Regions from separate parts of the Homo sapiens genome. Here all the other regions are linked to region 4. The links are contacts of gene promoters, found by promoter capture Hi-C in blood cells and fetal thymus (Javierre and others, 2016). All regions are on one chromosome and are shown on one strand. Each heading gives the region's core, a stretch centred on a gene start or on the middle of the fragment in contact. The rest is flanking DNA. Distances are from core to core; before and after follow the strand shown.

Region 1 (3,783 bases), core at 544-3,043, 120 kb after region 4:
CAGCTGTTGTTTAATTTGTGAGTGAAATGAATATGCAAACTGAACATACTGCTTAATTGGCCTTTACAAGGGAGATCGATAACACAGAAACGTTAATTGTTTCAGCTTTACAGCCGAGACTGAAAAGGAGAAACAAGACTGGATTGAAGCTGTGCAGCAATCAATAGCAGAAACTCTCTCTGATTATGAAGTAGCTGAGAAGATTTGGTTCAATGAATCCAACAGGAGCTGTGCAGATTGTAAAGCCCCAGATCCTGACTGGGCATCCATCAATCTCTGTGTTGTCATCTGTAAGAAGTGTGCAGGTAATTAGTGACAAGTTATGCTCATCACAGCTTTGTGGCAGATTGGCATTGAATGCTCTTCATTGTTGCATATTATATATCCTAGCTAATGGTTATGAGAAGTAAAACCAGAGAAAGCTTATTACATTTAAATCAAATTCAGAAATATGAGTCTAAACTTCTCTTATGTATGACTTGGATATAAAAATGGATTTTTAAGCATGCAATCATATTTTATGCCTACTGGTCCATGTATAGATTTTAAAAAGACAGTGTTGAAAATTCTAGATTTTAGGTGAGTATGTTTTAGTATGGATCCTGAAGAAGCTTGCATCTTTAACTTGAAGATTTGTCCACCTTTCCCCAGTCATTTTTGGTAAGACATATTTTTCACCTCAGTGTTGTTTTGAGCACTAAACTTCATATGCCAGATCTGGTACCTCTTAAAATAAGAATTTTTATAAAGAAGCATTTCACAAGACTATTGATGTTTATGAATATAAACCAGTACTATGACTGGTTTTCTTCTTGTGACCTCACACTGGACAACCTGACATCTCAGTGTATTTGAGAGCTCAGACAGTTGCCCAAGTGAGTGGAAGGAAGTGGACCCCAGCTTAGGTGTGTGATCATGGAAGTTTTGAAGAAAGTTAACCACAGTCTAAACTTCAGTTATCCTGGACTGCCTGTGTCCCACCACCTTCTCCCCCACTGTATGTACACACACACATACACACACAAACACAGATGAGAGAGACAGAGAGAGAGAATTCAACTCAAGTACTAGGCACTGTGCTGGTGCGGGGAATTAAAAACATGTATAAGACATGACATTTCCTCCACAATAATGAGACAAATGTTGGACTAGAGTTGAATACAGGCTTCAGTGAGAATGCTGGAGAGGAGTTCCTACCTCAGCTAGAGCGCAGTGAGTAGTGCAGTCACAGGAGTTGCTTCAAATCCTGAACGCTTTTCTAGAGCACTATTCAACTGCATTTCTCATCAAACTAAGATAGATTTCCTCACCAGCTAATTAATAATATCAATCACAACAAAAAATGCCAGTGAATCACCTTCTACTTTGAATTTTATCCCATCCTTTTCTTCTCTCCAGTTTCATTGGAAGAGACGGCCTTTGTGCTGTTCACAGCTGTTTTTTTCTACCTTTGCTTCCTTTCTTTCTTCCCTCCTTAGGATACATGTTCGTCATTTATTCACTCTCTTATGTAAGTATTTAGCCATGGTTTCTTTTGTTTCATTGTATAAACTTGCACAAGTTTGTCTCATTACCACCATCAGGATTTCTAAAAGTTATCCATTTCCTTCTATGTGTCATTCTCTGTCCCCTTTTTCTTTCATAGACAAGATATTATGAAAAGTTGTAGTGTGCATAGGTTTTTTTTCATTCCTTTAACTTCCTAAGTTTTCTTCAGCATTCTGTAATCAGCTACCTTTTAACTGCTGATGAGCTACCTTTTCTCTCAACTGTGGTAAAAATCTTTTCACCACATTTACCAACGTATTTTACCTCTCAGTTTCGGTGTGGTCACTTACTATCTTTATTATTGTCTCTTTATTTGAGTGTCTCGACAACATGTCTCTCTATGACATCCATCCTCTCTCAGCTTCCAAGATACCAGTCTCTCTTTGTGTTCTTATTACCAGTCTTTTTTTTTCCAGTATTTTTTTTCCCATGTATTTCCATGCTTGTGAAATACATGTGTTCCCTTGGGTTACATTCTCACTTCTCTTTTACTGTGTTGCTCCTGAGTGATATTATTTATCACTTTAATTCCACACTCATTTTTAAGCAAATGATTCTCACGCTGTTGGACACCAAACTCTTATGATTATATGCCTACTAGAATCTCTACTTAGATTTGCCAAATACACCTCAAATGTAACATGTCAAAAATGGAGCCATCGTTGTTCCCCTCAGCCCATTTCATAAAACTGCACATTTTCATATATTCTCAATCTTGGTCAAAAGCAATACTGTCTACGCTGCACACTCAAAGCCTAAAATCTGAGACACCTTCTTGACTCTTCCTCTTTCCTTCAAACCCACCAAGTCTCATTCATTTTATCTTATCAATCTCTCTCAATCTGTCTGCTCCATTTTATTTTCCTGCTGCCTCAACTCAGAATCTGTCATGCCTAGGTTACTGCAGCAGTCCCTTTCATCTCTTCCTACAGGCTTTTAAGTTTTTACCTGCTGGGTACTGTATTGCCTGTAGGTAGTCATTATAAATGCAAACCTATGCAGATTTCTTCCAGGGGAATTTAGGGCTTTGTGCTTTGAATAGTTTCTACTTAAAAAAAAAAAAAAAGACAAGAACTTCTTACCTATTGTAGGGAAAGGAATGAACATTCGTTGTTCATTAGACAAAGGGCCCTTAAGATCAAGGATAGTGGACTGTACACTTTTTTTCCTTCTCAGCTTTGAAATAATCTGACATAGCCTGGTTGCTCAGTGATGACTGAATGATGATTTATACAGCACAATTGAATTGACAGTAATAAAATTCTGGGCTCTTACTTTCTTCCAGACATATTTGCTGAATAAAGTATTCATGTCAGATTTTTAAGTACACACTTATTAGACATGTAACTAGTTTTTCAATAGTCAAGTTTTTGTAACAGTAAAGAAATATTATCTGCATTTACATACGTGGGGTTTTAGCAAGCTTTACAAAAGGTTTTCAGTGGCCTATTTCTAGCTGATTACCAAATGAGGAAATATTTATACATGTGTCTGTACATATGCACTCATGCACATATATATATATATATATTTAAGTAAGTGTAGTTCTTTTTTTTTTTTTTTGAGACGGAGTCTCGCTCTGTCGCCCAGGCTGGAGTGCAGTGGCAAGATCTGGGCTCACTGCAAGCTCCGCCTCCCGGGTTCACGCCATTCTCCTGCCTCAGCCTCCCGAGTAGCTGGGACTACAGGTGCCTGCCACCTCGCCCGGCTAATTTTTTGTATTTTTAGTAGAGACGGGGTTTCACCCTGTTAGCCAGGATGTTCTCGATCTCCTGACCTCGTGATCCGCCCGCCTCGGCCTTCCAAAGTGCTGGGATTACAGGCGTGAGCCACCGCGCCAGGCCGTGTAGTTTTTTTTTTTTTTTTTTTTTTTTTTTGTCAGTGCAGATGCTGATGATGATTGCTGCTGTTTTTATTGTAGCCAGCTGCGATTTGTCTAATTCTCACCACTACTGTTAGTGCTCTTGTCATCTTGTTATTGAGGAAAGCAGGTATTGGTGTGTTTTAAGTTGAGAAGATACGCAACGAACATACACAGACATATGCACTTTCTTTCAAAACAAGGTAAAATAAATTTACATACAAATTAAAATAGAAATGCAATTGTGTTTTGACTCTAGGACAGCATAGATCTTTAGGACCAAAAGATTCCAAGGTTAGAAGTCTAAAAATGGATGCTAGCATTTGGAGCAATGAACTCATCGAGGTGAGTCCTATTTAACCTGAATGGGGTTG
Region 2 (3,929 bases), core at 1,339-3,838, 70 kb after region 4:
GTTTCTGGCAGTTTGAGCTACAGAACAAAGATATATGTACGGAAAGTGATTTTGCCATGGTAACTGGAAAGGGCTGTCATTGTTGCTCTGGCAAATTGAACAGTGACAGAGGCTTTTCTTTCATTTTGAAAATTCTGATTATACAAGTTTGGGAACATTCTTTTTGACAATAAGATGTCAAACACTTGGGTACTGAATTTTTAAGAAAAATTTTTGCCAGAGTAGAAATGCAAATATTGAGAATTCTTTTTTTGTAGATTAGTATAATTCAAGGATGGTGGAACTTCTCTTGAAATAATTTATTTACAGATGCATTAGTAGCTATGGCATTAGAGGAATTATATTAAATGCCTTCTGGGATTTTAAGTGATATCTAGCTATTATGTTAGTGACCTTTTTATAATTATTTATTGTAAGTTATAGAATTAAGCTTAATTTTCTGCCATTTAGAATATTTCCTTATTTAGGAATTAGCATTATAAATGGCACCATGACAATTTATTTTGTATGTGGGCAATGTATTTGGTTATGTTAATGTGGATCCTAGAGGTTGGGAAGGACATGTGTGACAGGTTGCAATTTAAGGAGCAGTGAGTTATGTTTGTGAAGCAAGTGGTGGATACCATGTGTGTTATATCAAGAAGACGATGGGGAGAATTGATTTGGGGATAAGAATTAGCATAATTTGGACTCTTACAGAATAAAGCTTACGTTGTGATAATGCCATAAAAAACTCATGCTTTTAATCTTTTTTTAAAAACAGTATTTCACATTATTCACATCTTTCTGTTCTCATCCTGTAATTCCCCTAAAAGATTCAAATGAGGAGAATTCATCTTCCATCTTTCCTTATGGAGAGACCTTTCTCTTCCAGAGACTAGAAAATTCCAAGGTTAGTCCCATACATTTTAATTGTTTTCCATAATCAATTATTTGCTTTTCTGCCTATTTGTACCTCTTCATTTTTCTCCAAGCTATTTGAAGAATGGCATTATATTGAAGATTGAAATTTCCAGTCAGCAAAATTTTTGTTCAGTAAAATTATGGTAAAATCTGTCTCTTTCAATATACATTATAGGAACACATGTTTATTATGACTTCAGGAATCCAGGATAGTGAGTTTTAAAAATTTGCCACAAGATTGGGTTAATTAAACAAAAGACAAACTGTATAAAACTTAAGCACTCTCTAGATTTTTGCTTTGCCTTGTAGCCAAGTGCAGACTTCTGAAGTGCATAGATTTCCAATTATGTATATATTTTAATTATTTAGTTTATCACTCATTCTTTTCTATTACTTGTGCTCTTTTGCTACTTTATTTCTTGGTCTTGATAAAAGAGAAGTTGGAAGACAAAAATGAATCAAGGAGTAAAAGTACATAAATTTTATTTTTGGTTACCATTTTCTTTTATTCTTACTTGAATTGATGAGTTAACGATTTGAATAAAATAGTGAAAAAAAAATCAAAAGTCTGTTTAATGTAGACTAACTTTTTTTTCTGAAAATTGATCTAAGTAATTAGACTTATTTAATAAAACTAAACTCAGATATTATGGATTTTTGTAGAATATTGCTACACATACAAACAAATCCCCAAACCAAAAAGCAAAACAGTATGTGTTTTTTGTTTGTTTGCTTTTTTAATAGAAGCGATCTATAAAGAATGAATTTTTGACCCAGGGAGAAGCACTCAAAGGGGAAGCAGCTACTGCAACAAACTCTTTTATCATCAAATCAAGGTATGAGATCATGATTGATGATGATTAACTATTTAGAATAAACTGTTATACAATGTTGACTTCTCATTCTTAGTATAATATTGTGTGTCAGAGAAAATAGTTTATGGTGATAAGTTCAATTTTTTCCTCTCTAAATGTAAGCATAGCAGCACCCATTTTATTAATTGAATTATGCTCTGTAGATCAAGTAAATAGTTGCATTCTGTGGCAGATTATTTTTGTCTTTTTCTAATGGAAACCACACCCCTTCCCCACAGTAGCAAATACAGGTGACTATGATTGCACATTAAAGATGAGAGGTTATGTTAATAAAAAGGAGAAAAGGGCAGTGCAGAACATCACTATGCAAGTTGCAGACTTTTACAAGTATAATATATTCTTTTTATTGGAGTTTCAGCACTGGCAAGAAGCATGACAATTATCCAGTTATTTGGATCACATACAGAGTTAGAATTTGTATGCACCAACTTCAATTTTGGTTTTCTCTCAGCTTTATTGGAACTTGGCATACTGGCACATTACCTGATACTTCATTTTCTTTTTCTTAATTTTTAATTTTTGAGATTACATAGTAGATGTATATATTTCTGGGGTACATAACATATTTTGATATAAGCATAATATAATCACATCATGGAAAACGGAATATTCATCCCCCAAAGCATTCCTCTTTTGTATTGCCAACAGTTTAATTATACTTTTTAGTGGGACATTCATTTTATTTTTGTCTTTCATTTTCTAAGGCTAACATTGTTATAGGTTTCCCTCAGTTAAAGCTAAACAATTAAACATCTTTAGTAAACATTTGACATAATCTAATATAATGCAAAATATGAAAGGGCCAGGCTAAATTATTCTTTGAGGCAGTAATGGTTTTTAGAATGCTATATCCAGAAAGATGTAATTTGAGCCCAGGCATATCTGTTTCATTGATTAGCAAAAAATGTCCTTTGGCATTAATGAATGAGTTGATCTATTATGTCATCCCTTGAATCTGTAGAAATATGCTTAGCTATTATGAATGCATTCCAATAAATATTGTGCATTACATAGCTTTTACTTCCTGAATGTACACTGACCCTTTCTTGCTTTCTAGCTAGCAGTGTGCTGCAATATTTTTCCTCATCAGCATTGCAAAATAATACTGATGCTCTCAGCAGTCAGGCATACTCTCTGTTTTATTGCATTGTGGTGAAACATGGGGTCCTTGGAGTTGATTAGAGGATAGTAGAGAGGGGTAAGCAAATTGGAAATAAGATCTCCATATAGATGAGTTAATGGTCCGTCATGTTGCCCAGAGGGATTGGGCTGGCCACTTAATTGTGCTATTAAAGATGTTTAAATTGTGATGTGAAGAATATACCCAGTCTGCATTCTTAGCACCTGCCCCTAACCTTCCAAAATAAAAGGGATAAGATTAAATTATACCTAAGAAAAAACTTGTAGTAGTATTCAGATGTCATAGGTTAATGAAATAATTTTACTTAGCTTTTCTGGAAGAGTTTAAAAAATTTTCAATAGGGTTAATGGAAACTCTAGGATTTTCCTGGCCTTATGTTTCTGTTATTAGTTATTTATAAATTTTCAAAATGTCACTGATGTCTTAAATCACATATAGCACTTTGAAATGTTTACATCATTTTTCCGTTTAGCATATACGATAACAGAAAGGAGAAAATAAGCGAGGACAAGGTGGAAGATATTTGGATACCTCGAGAGGACAAAAACAATTTTTTGATAGACACTGCTTCTGAATCAGAATACTCAACAGTAGAAGAATGCTTTCAGAGTTTAAGAAGAAAAAATTCAAAGGCATCTAAATCTAGGACTCAAAAAGCCTTGATTTTGGACTCCGTTAATAGGCACAGTTATCCGTTAAGCTCAACAAGTGGAAATGCTGATTCATCAGCCGTTTCTTCACAGGCAATATCTCCCTATGCCTGCTTTTATGGAGCATCTGCAAAGAAGGTTAAATCAGGATGGCTGGATAAACTCTCTCCTCAAGGGTATGTACGTATGCATTTATTTCATAAGTGGCATATTTTTAAAATTTCAAGTTTATTCATTTCTAAACCTCCAGGGTTGCTGTTCCCCCACTCCACCGCCACACACACACATACACAGAGATGCCATTTTTAGGGACTTTCAGCACACTTTTGCCAGTGCTATTCTTTAGACATAAGGAGAGAG
Region 3 (4,224 bases), core at 1,257-3,756, 120 kb before region 4:
AGTAAAAAAGCTGAAAAATCTGAAAAATCATCCATTCTTCTTAAATCCATATGAGAAGTGAGGTCACAGGGAAAATCACTGTCCCCAAAATAAGACAGACAGAAAGGCAAATACAGAGACTCACAAGCTACTGGAGCAGAAACCTGAGTGGGAACCAGTACTAAAGTAGGAAAACTTAAAATGTAATTGACTAATGGGAAGCTAAGAATGGGCAAGACTGGGAGTAAATACTCCAGCAGGGTCCCATCGTAGGGGAAAGTATTAGGCCATTTTCACACTGCTGATAAAGACATACCCAAGACTGGGTAATTTACAAAAAAGAAGAGGTTTATTGGACTCACAGTTCCACGTGTCTGGAGAGGCCTCACAATCATGGCAGAAGGTGAAAGGCACATCTCACATGGTGGCAGACAAGGGAACAGAGCTTGTGCAGGGGAACTCCCCTTTTTTAAAACCATCAGATCTTGTGAAACTTATTCGCTATCATGAGAACAGCATGGGAAACACCTGCCCCTATGATTCAATTACCTCCCACTGGGTCTCGCCCACAACACGTGGGAATTCGAGATGAGATTTGGGTGAGGGCACAGCCAAACCATATCAGATACCCCCACACTTTTCTGGCTTTACCTACAGGAGATGAAGTAGATTCGCCCAGTAAACATTAGAGAGAAGTCTCCAGCTTCCAACGGGGAAAGGATTCTGTTTTTTACAAAGCCTGCCCCCTAGAGAAACTATTTTATCAGATCCTGATCTGAAGGGGTTTTATAGGAGCCTAACATACTTGGGAAAGGGAAAACCCCAACCCTAACCCTCTCTAGTTTTTCATATGGGGGATGAAAAACACTTGACTCCATCACCCTGTAGCCATCCCATACTGGTCGATAAAACTGAGAGACACCTGTGAAGTTCACAGTCTAGGGACACAAGCTCACTAAAAGACTGAGACATAATCACAGGACTCTAGAATACTAGCTAACCCCCAACACCTTACCGGCACATCACTAAAGGCCTATTTACTAGAGTTCCTTTTACCCACTACATCACAAGAAATTATAAGGCATACTCATAAAAAAGCATGAAATCATGTCCTTTGCAGCAACATGGATGCAGCTAGAGGCCATTATCCCAAGCAAATTACTGCAAGAATAGAAAACCAAATACCACCTGTTCCCTCTTATAAGTGAGAGCTAAACATTGAGTACACAGAGAACAATAAACATCAGGGACTACTTGAGTGTGGAGGGTAGGAGAAGAATGAGGGACAAAAAACTACCTACCAAGTGCTATGCTTACAACATGAGTGATAAAATCATTTGTATACCAAACCTCAGTGACACACAGCTTACCCATGTAACAAGCTTGCACATGTACCCTGCAAACCTAAAATAAAAAGGTGAAGAAAAGGAAAGTAAAAATGCCCTAATGCTAAAAAAAAAATAATAATTACAAGGCATACTAAAAGGCAAAAAACACAGTGTAGACAAGGAAGTCATCAGAACCACTCTCAGACATGGCTGCGATATTGGAATCATCACACTGGGAATTTAAAATGATAATGATTAATGTGCTAAGGTGTCTAATGGACAAAGTACACAACATGTAAGAAAAGATAGGTCAGGTAAACAAAGAGATGGAAATGCTAAGAAAGAATCAAAAGGAAATGCTAGAGATCAAGAACACTTTAACAGAAGGAAGAATTATTTGATGGGTTCATTAGGAGACTGGACGTGGCTGAGGAAAGAATCTCTGAGCATGAGAATGTGTTAATAGAAAATTATAAAACCAAAATGTGAAGAGAAAAATTACTGAATAAATGGAACAGAATATCGAATAACTATGAGGCAATGACAAAAGATGTAGCATATGTGTAATGAGAATGCTAGAAAGAAGAGTCATGAACAGAAGAAACATTTGAAGTAATAACAACTGATAATTTCCCTCAAATTAATGTCAGACACCAAACCACAGATCCAGGAAGCACAGAGAAAACCAAGCAGGATAAATATCCAATAATTTGCACCTAGCCTGAAAATAAAAGGTCAAGAAAAATCTTGAAATGAGTCAGAGGAAAAAAAAAACAACTTGCCTATAGAGGAGCAAGATAAAAATTACATCTGACATCTCAAAAATCATGCAACCAAGAAGAGAGTGGAGGGAAATATTTAAAGTGCTGAAAGAAAAGATACATCAACCTAGAATCCACTACCCTGCAAAGTTATCCTTGAAAGTCAAGGAGAAATGAAGTCTTTCTCAGACAAACAAAACTGAGGGAATTTGTTAACAGTAGATCAGTCTTACAAGAAGTTATTTAGAGAGAAAAAACGTGACACAGCTCAGGAACTCAGATCTGCATGAAAAACGGAAGAGGATTAAAGAAGGAATAAGGGAAGATAACAGAATTTTCAGTTTTCTTATTCTCAATTGATCTAACAGATAACAATTTGTTTAAAATAATAATAGCAACAATGTATTTGATGATTATAGCTTACGCATTAGTGAAATAAATGACATCAATGATACAAGGGATGGGAGGGAGGAATTAGGAATATTTTCTTATTATAAAATACTTGCACCACATACAAAGTAAAATAATTTTATTAGAAAATAATAATGAATTACTCTTACTGCTCTTGTTCAACCTCTTCCCTCTGCTCAGAATGTCCTCCCAGTCTCTGGTCTAAATGGAAAACATCTCCTCTTCCCTTAAAACCCTAAGAAACATTACCTCTTCTATAAAATTTTTCCTGGTCTTCCTTCCCAGCCATCTATTATGTGGAAATACTTTGATTTCTTTCTTTCCGTTGATTTTTCCACATTGTATGTAGATGTCTACATTAGTGCATATTTCTCTGTGTTGTATTTTTCTGTTAGGAATAAGGTTTACTTATTACTAATCTTTATACCCCAAGACTTTAGAAAACTGTAAAGTCACATATATATAGAAGTTATTATTGATATACTGCTAAGACTGCACTAGGGTTTCTTGAGTGTATCTCTTTGGGACAGCCCCCACTTATATTTTCCTATGAAATGCTAGACATAAAAGAGAAGCTCAAAGTCCAATTGCCTGAATTAAGAAAAGTACTGCGATGATGACTTTTGTCACCAGAGGGCATCACTGGCTCAGCAGCTGCTTCTCTAATGCTAAGACATTTTAAAACTTTGTATTTAAGGTTCCTTGACTAAGTCAAAAAAGTATTTATTGAACATATAGCTTGTGCCAAGAAATGTTCTAGGTCTTGGGAAATACAGCAATAAATAAAAGTGACAAGGTTTCTCTGTTTGATCTTGTTTACATTTCACTCAAAACTGATGGTTGGAAACAGCCTAAATTCTGTCAGTCTTAAGAATCTAAACTTGCCTAGATTTTGTTTCCAGTGTGGGAAACTGGGTTAGTTTTGAGTTCTCCTTTGGTCACTCAGTCAATAAATACTTACTGAAAGCCTACTATGTGCTATATTTGGATTGAGTATTCGATAGACATGACAAGGTGGCCTTAGCTTTCATGGAAGTTACAATATAGTAGAGAACACAAAAATTAATTTTAAAATGTCCATTTGTGGCCAGTGATAAAAACGTAAATAAATTACAAGGTGACTTGTACAAGAGGGTAAGCCAATTGTTTTTTAGAGTTTAGGGAAAGCTTTTTTGAGGAAAGAGAACGTAACTCCACCACCACCACCAAGACGAAGGATGAGCAGAAATAACTTGGGGAAGAATTTCTATGAGGATGTTCTAGAGAGAAGTAACTAGAAAGATTCTAATAAAATATGGCATGATGCCAGAATGAGGGAAGAACTGTCTAGTCACAAAGAGAGTTTGGCATAGCATAGTAGCTACATAGGAAGCTGTACTAACTTTTCTTTGTGATGATCTGGGATATGCCTGCTAATCTGGCGCTTTACCTAATGTCATCTCAGCCATACAACAGCCTCACGACACATGTAGAACCGTAAGAGTTTGGGACAAGACTGAGGGTGTCACTGAATGAAATATGGTAAATCTCATTGAGTTTAAATAGAAGACTAGCTTCTATAGTAACAAGATATGGAATAAACAGCCAATAAAATAAAAAATGTACAAAAAATTTACAACAAAAAATGCATTATAACACCAGATAATTCAAATTAGTTCCACTTTAAGTAAGAATAGTCATTAATCATCTCAAAGGTACTGGAAATTAAGGATAAGGCCCACAAGAAACCAAAGTACTCTCATGTA
Region 4 (4,231 bases), core at 816-3,315:
CCAATAAGAACTGAAGTCAACATCTCCCTCAATTGTTTTTCATTTGGTATGATTTTGAGAACTCTTCTTTTACCACTGGATGTACAATAGTTTATCAATGATCCATTTAAAATGCTGGGCTGAAAATTAGGCGAACACTCCAGATGAGGCTTGGGTGGCAGAAACACCATACCTCCATTATTTCTGCCAATGTAGATGCTTTGTTTTGGAGCCTAGTTTACTGCTATAAGAATTGGATTAGGTTTATACTATTCCTCCTGATGAATTTGTGAGCATTGGAAATTTTCAAATTAGTCCTTCAGAGAATAGCTCTGACCATACCAATTCTCTGATTGGAACCTGAAGTGGCTACTCAAAGCCTACTAACTCAGGTCAACCTTCTTCACTCTGAAGTAAACTCTTAGCATGATCAAATCTTATATAATCTCTCACTCCGTCATCATTCTTCCCACTCTCCTATTTGTTCATCCTGCTTCTCCTCACTACTGAGGTCACCTGATGACTTCTTGCAGGCTTAGTACCTCTCTAGTCTTTAGAATTCAGTTCTGAACTAAAGAATAGGTAATTTAAGGCCCCATAGCTTAGTGTTTTTAAAGCCATCACCAAATCATCCCTTCACCAGTCAGGGCTTTTCTTTGGGATCCAGTTCTGACAACTTGTGTTTTGTTTTGTTTTGTTTTTGTCTTATACCTGAGAACTTGTCTTTATTTTTAACTCCTATTCTGGTAACCAAGTCCTTGTTTTTTTCTGAATATATATTTGCTTGTTATATTGCCAAAGACCATGTTCCACTCCCTCCAGAGGCTAAAGGTCTCATTGTGGGCTGCAGCTGATGGCTTCTCAGTCATGCTGCCTTTAGACAGATTTCCCTGATGCCCACTATTTGCCCTTTAGATTGAATTTCTTAACATCATCTACCCTGGATTTCCTCATAGATGGAACCTGCCCACTTATCTTGATACTGTATTATTTAGAGTTGAATTTCATGATGCCACCTATATGCTTATCTGGAGTAACTGTTGTTATCTAGGATTATATTCATCAGATTCCACATTCTTCCTGCCTTACTGTACTTTTCCACATCCATAACTGGACCTATTCCCAAGAATCCCTCTCCAGCCCCAGTGCATGGGGATCCAATTCCCTATCCCAACCCACTCCAGTCTTCCCAGTAATTTTGCAATCAATAAGGCTAAGCTCAAATGACCCTAGAGATAGAATACTATATTCTGATATAAAAAACAAACTACTAGCTCTGCCTCAGTGGCCTGTATTTTCCTGTCTCTAAGTCTTGGATCCTACTAAAATTACCGACTCTCTCTTTCCTGCTGCATAAATCCAATTCACTCTTTAAGCTTCAGCTTAAATACTACATTTTTCTAGCAAACTTCTCAATTCCCCACCCTACAGATGGGATTTAAACTGCTTCTGAAGTCCAAAAGCACTTCATTCATGTGTTTCTAATGGGACTGGCCCCAATGTCCCTGGCATTATTGTGCATTTGTCTCAACTTATTTCCCCTTTGAAATTGTTAGTCTCTTGTGGACAGAAACTCTATCTTAGCCTATCTGGTATACTCATAGCCCCTCTCAGATCTTGCCCTAATCAATATTTCTTAGAGAAAGAATAAACTAAAAAAAAGAATACTTGCCTTTTCTCGAGACACATTGATTCTCTTTGTCAAGCAGCACATGCAGCTGCTGGCAGGTGGAACGCAGGGTGCCTGAGGTGTGCTCCAGCAGCTGGTGAAGGGCACTGCTGAGTTCCTGACCCAGAAAGACCACAGTGGCCATCCAAGTGGCCCCACCAGCCCCCTCACAAAGGTCATCACCCAAGAGTGCCTGCTTTAGCATCTGGTTTTGTCTCCAAATCTGCTTCAATATTTGGCCCAGTTTACCTGAGCCCATGTATTCCATATCCATTTTATGATCCAAAAGTGGTATTTTCTCTCCTGCCAGCAAAGCCTAAAGGTTTTGCAAATTCAAACTTTGTGATTGTTATTTCTCCTAAACTCTAGGAGATGATCCGAGTCAGCTAGCCCAGCACTTTCTCACAACATAGTGGTTATTCAGTTTGGTGTTGACTAGTGAAAAGTTACTAGGTGACCGAAGAAGGGGCGTTCCTGTACCATGGGTGCTACTGTGTACAGAATACATTAATCACTGGGGTAGAGCTGACTCACATGATCCAACTCTCTGTGTAAGTTTTACAAATTCAATATACTGTGGAAGTACCAAATACTTTTCAAGTTTTGAGGCAACAAAATACAGATTCCAGGTAGGGTAAGAAGTTTATTAATCAAAGGTAAACTGTATGAACAATATTGCTGGCAGGATTCCTGTAAACTTAAAAATATTTATGAATGAAATAATGTGATGTCTGATTTTGCTTCTAAATAATCAGGGAGCATAGGGGTGGGTAGAGGTATAAAATTTGCTGTAAGAATTAATAAATGTTGAAGCTGGATATGTTTACACATGGGGTCTTGACAATTCACTCTAATTAATGTGTATATGTATAGTATTTTTATAACCAAGAGTTTAAAAAGATTCCTCTACTGGAGCAGAGCCTATTGCATTGGTTAGGAAGTTATAATTAGCATCTTCTTATGTGGTAAATCTGCAGAGACTGAGATAAGAACTTGGCCTCTGATAATTTCCCTCTAATTGGATAAAATGCCCCTTCACTGAAAGAAAGTAAACCTGAAGAGTAGCTTTCTCTAAACTAGCAAGGATTCTTTACCATATGTAATTAAAATTCAGATACAACAAGCTCTCCCCACTGCTGCCCATCTGCCTGCCAGCGCATCATATATGGGGCTATGCAATGCAGCACTTGCGGGTATTTGGAGGAAACCAGAACAGTCTGCCTCCCTCTCTCCAATCCCACTGCTCAGAGAGAACACACACCTAAGCCAAAGGAAGAGGGCAGCAAGTACATTCCAGAGAGGCTCATGTTCCCTCGGGTACTGGAACAAAATGAAAGCTTTTCAAGTGGAAGCCGGAGTGCTTCCCTCCCACAGGCAACACATTATCTCATCTTAAGCCCTGGAGTTCTAAGAGCTACACTCAGGGCACCTGGAAGACAAGATGGGAAAAACAAGCCCAGAGAATAAATAATGAAGAATGACTGCCACTGCCCTAAAGACTGTCAAAGACCCTGAAGGAAAGGAGCAGTATTGAGTACTGGTGGCTGCAGAGTGGAGAGGGGCTCCTTCACCACTAAGTGTCTTATTTTTCAGTTAACTTCTGTTCACTGAAAAGGGGACCTTTTTCGCAGTATGAGTTCATATCACTTCATGGATTGGATCATTTAAATCTTCTCAAACTAAAGACTCACTCATTCAATTCTATTTTCTTTTCTTACTCCTTAAATGGATGTGTCATTCTCAATAATAATGTACACATGGCTTTAATTCAATGCTAATTTTGAAAACTTCCTATAGCATTTACTGTGGGACAGGAACTAAGTGCTGGAGGTCAGGCCTTTTTAGGATTTCAAGAGACAGATGCATGAACAGATTATTGAAATAAAGCTTAGTCTGTGTTGAGAGCTAGAGCAGAAGTATAAAGAAAAAGTATCATAAAAGCTTTGAGGAGTTAAAAAAATAATTCTGCTTAGAGGCCTGGAAAATGTTTGAATTAGAAACTAAAGGATAAGCAGGCTATGGAGTAAAAGAAAAAAAATATTCCAGCATAGGAAATAATATGATCAAAGTCACGGAGGCATGAGATTACACAGTAGGATCAAAAATGTAAAAGTATGGCTTTGGAGGAAGGTTCAGTTAACGAGTCAGAGGTGACAAATGAAGAGTTCAGTAATTGTAGATAGTGAGGAGAAGAAATTAGAATTTTGGTTTACAGATAAGACAGAAATTGAATATATTTGAATCAGACTGCAATGTGATGAAATCTGTGCTGTAGAGATGCAGATGTATTAGATGACAGAGATATAAGAGTTAGGAGGCTCGAAGGTCTGTATAAAACAGCAACAGAGCAGATGAGAGAAGGGGATGGCGTGAGAGGGGATTTGAAGTACAGTGGATAGAACTTACTAAACTTACCAAACCATCAGATTATAGGGAGAGGAATAGAAAGTATTGAAAATGCATTCATTTATTTGAGAAATATTTATTGACCACTAGTATAAGAACTATGCTTAGTATTAGAATATGACTGAAATATTTAATTTAGGTGATTACATAGACTATAAGACTATTAAGGAATTTAAG

Evidence for each region. Contacts are between HindIII fragments. The CHiCAGO score rates a contact against its expected background, and 5 or more counts as called.
Region 1: a contact is called between a fragment that was not itself captured here and the fragment with the promoter of DTHD1 in region 4, in 5 of 17 cell types (activated CD4 T cells, non-activated CD4 T cells, naive CD8 T cells and 2 more). The highest score is 8.0, in activated CD4 T cells.
Region 2: a contact is called between a fragment that was not itself captured here and the fragment with the promoter of DTHD1 in region 4, in 7 of 17 cell types (total CD8 T cells, activated CD4 T cells, naive CD8 T cells and 4 more). The highest score is 11.3, in total CD8 T cells.
Region 3: a fragment that was not itself captured here is called in contact with the fragment with the promoter of DTHD1 in region 4 in 9 of 17 cell types (activated CD4 T cells, naive CD8 T cells, M2 macrophages and 6 more); the score reaches 11.3 in activated CD4 T cells.

The regions. Positions count from the first base shown.
Region 1 is chr4:36,161,436-36,165,218 of GRCh38, reverse strand. ARAP2 (ArfGAP with RhoGAP domain, ankyrin repeat and PH domain 2) reads left to right here. Exons shown (of 33, transcript NM_015230.4): 11 at 106-305; 12 at 3,669-3,754. Among named protein-coding and RNA genes, the nearest start is that of ARAP2, 81 kb to the left of the region's middle. The HindIII fragment of the contact is 2,360 bases long and covers 614-2,973 here.
Region 2 is chr4:36,210,206-36,214,134 of GRCh38, reverse strand. ARAP2 (ArfGAP with RhoGAP domain, ankyrin repeat and PH domain 2) reads left to right here. Exons shown (of 33, transcript NM_015230.4): 4 at 816-892; 5 at 1,648-1,739; 6 at 3,392-3,745. Among named protein-coding and RNA genes, the nearest start is that of ARAP2, 32 kb to the left of the region's middle. The HindIII fragment of the contact is 3,759 bases long and covers 709-3,929 here.
Region 3 is chr4:36,398,844-36,403,067 of GRCh38, reverse strand. No RefSeq gene overlaps it. Among named protein-coding and RNA genes, the nearest start is that of MIR1255B1, 25 kb to the left of the region's middle. The HindIII fragment of the contact is 2,285 bases long and covers 1,364-3,648 here.
Region 4 is chr4:36,279,450-36,283,680 of GRCh38, reverse strand. It overlaps DTHD1 (death domain containing 1), which reads right to left and starts at 2,065. Exons shown (of 10, transcript NM_001170700.3): 1 at 1,652-2,065. The coding sequence starts at 1,922. The HindIII fragment of the contact is 1,630 bases long and covers 1,358-2,987 here.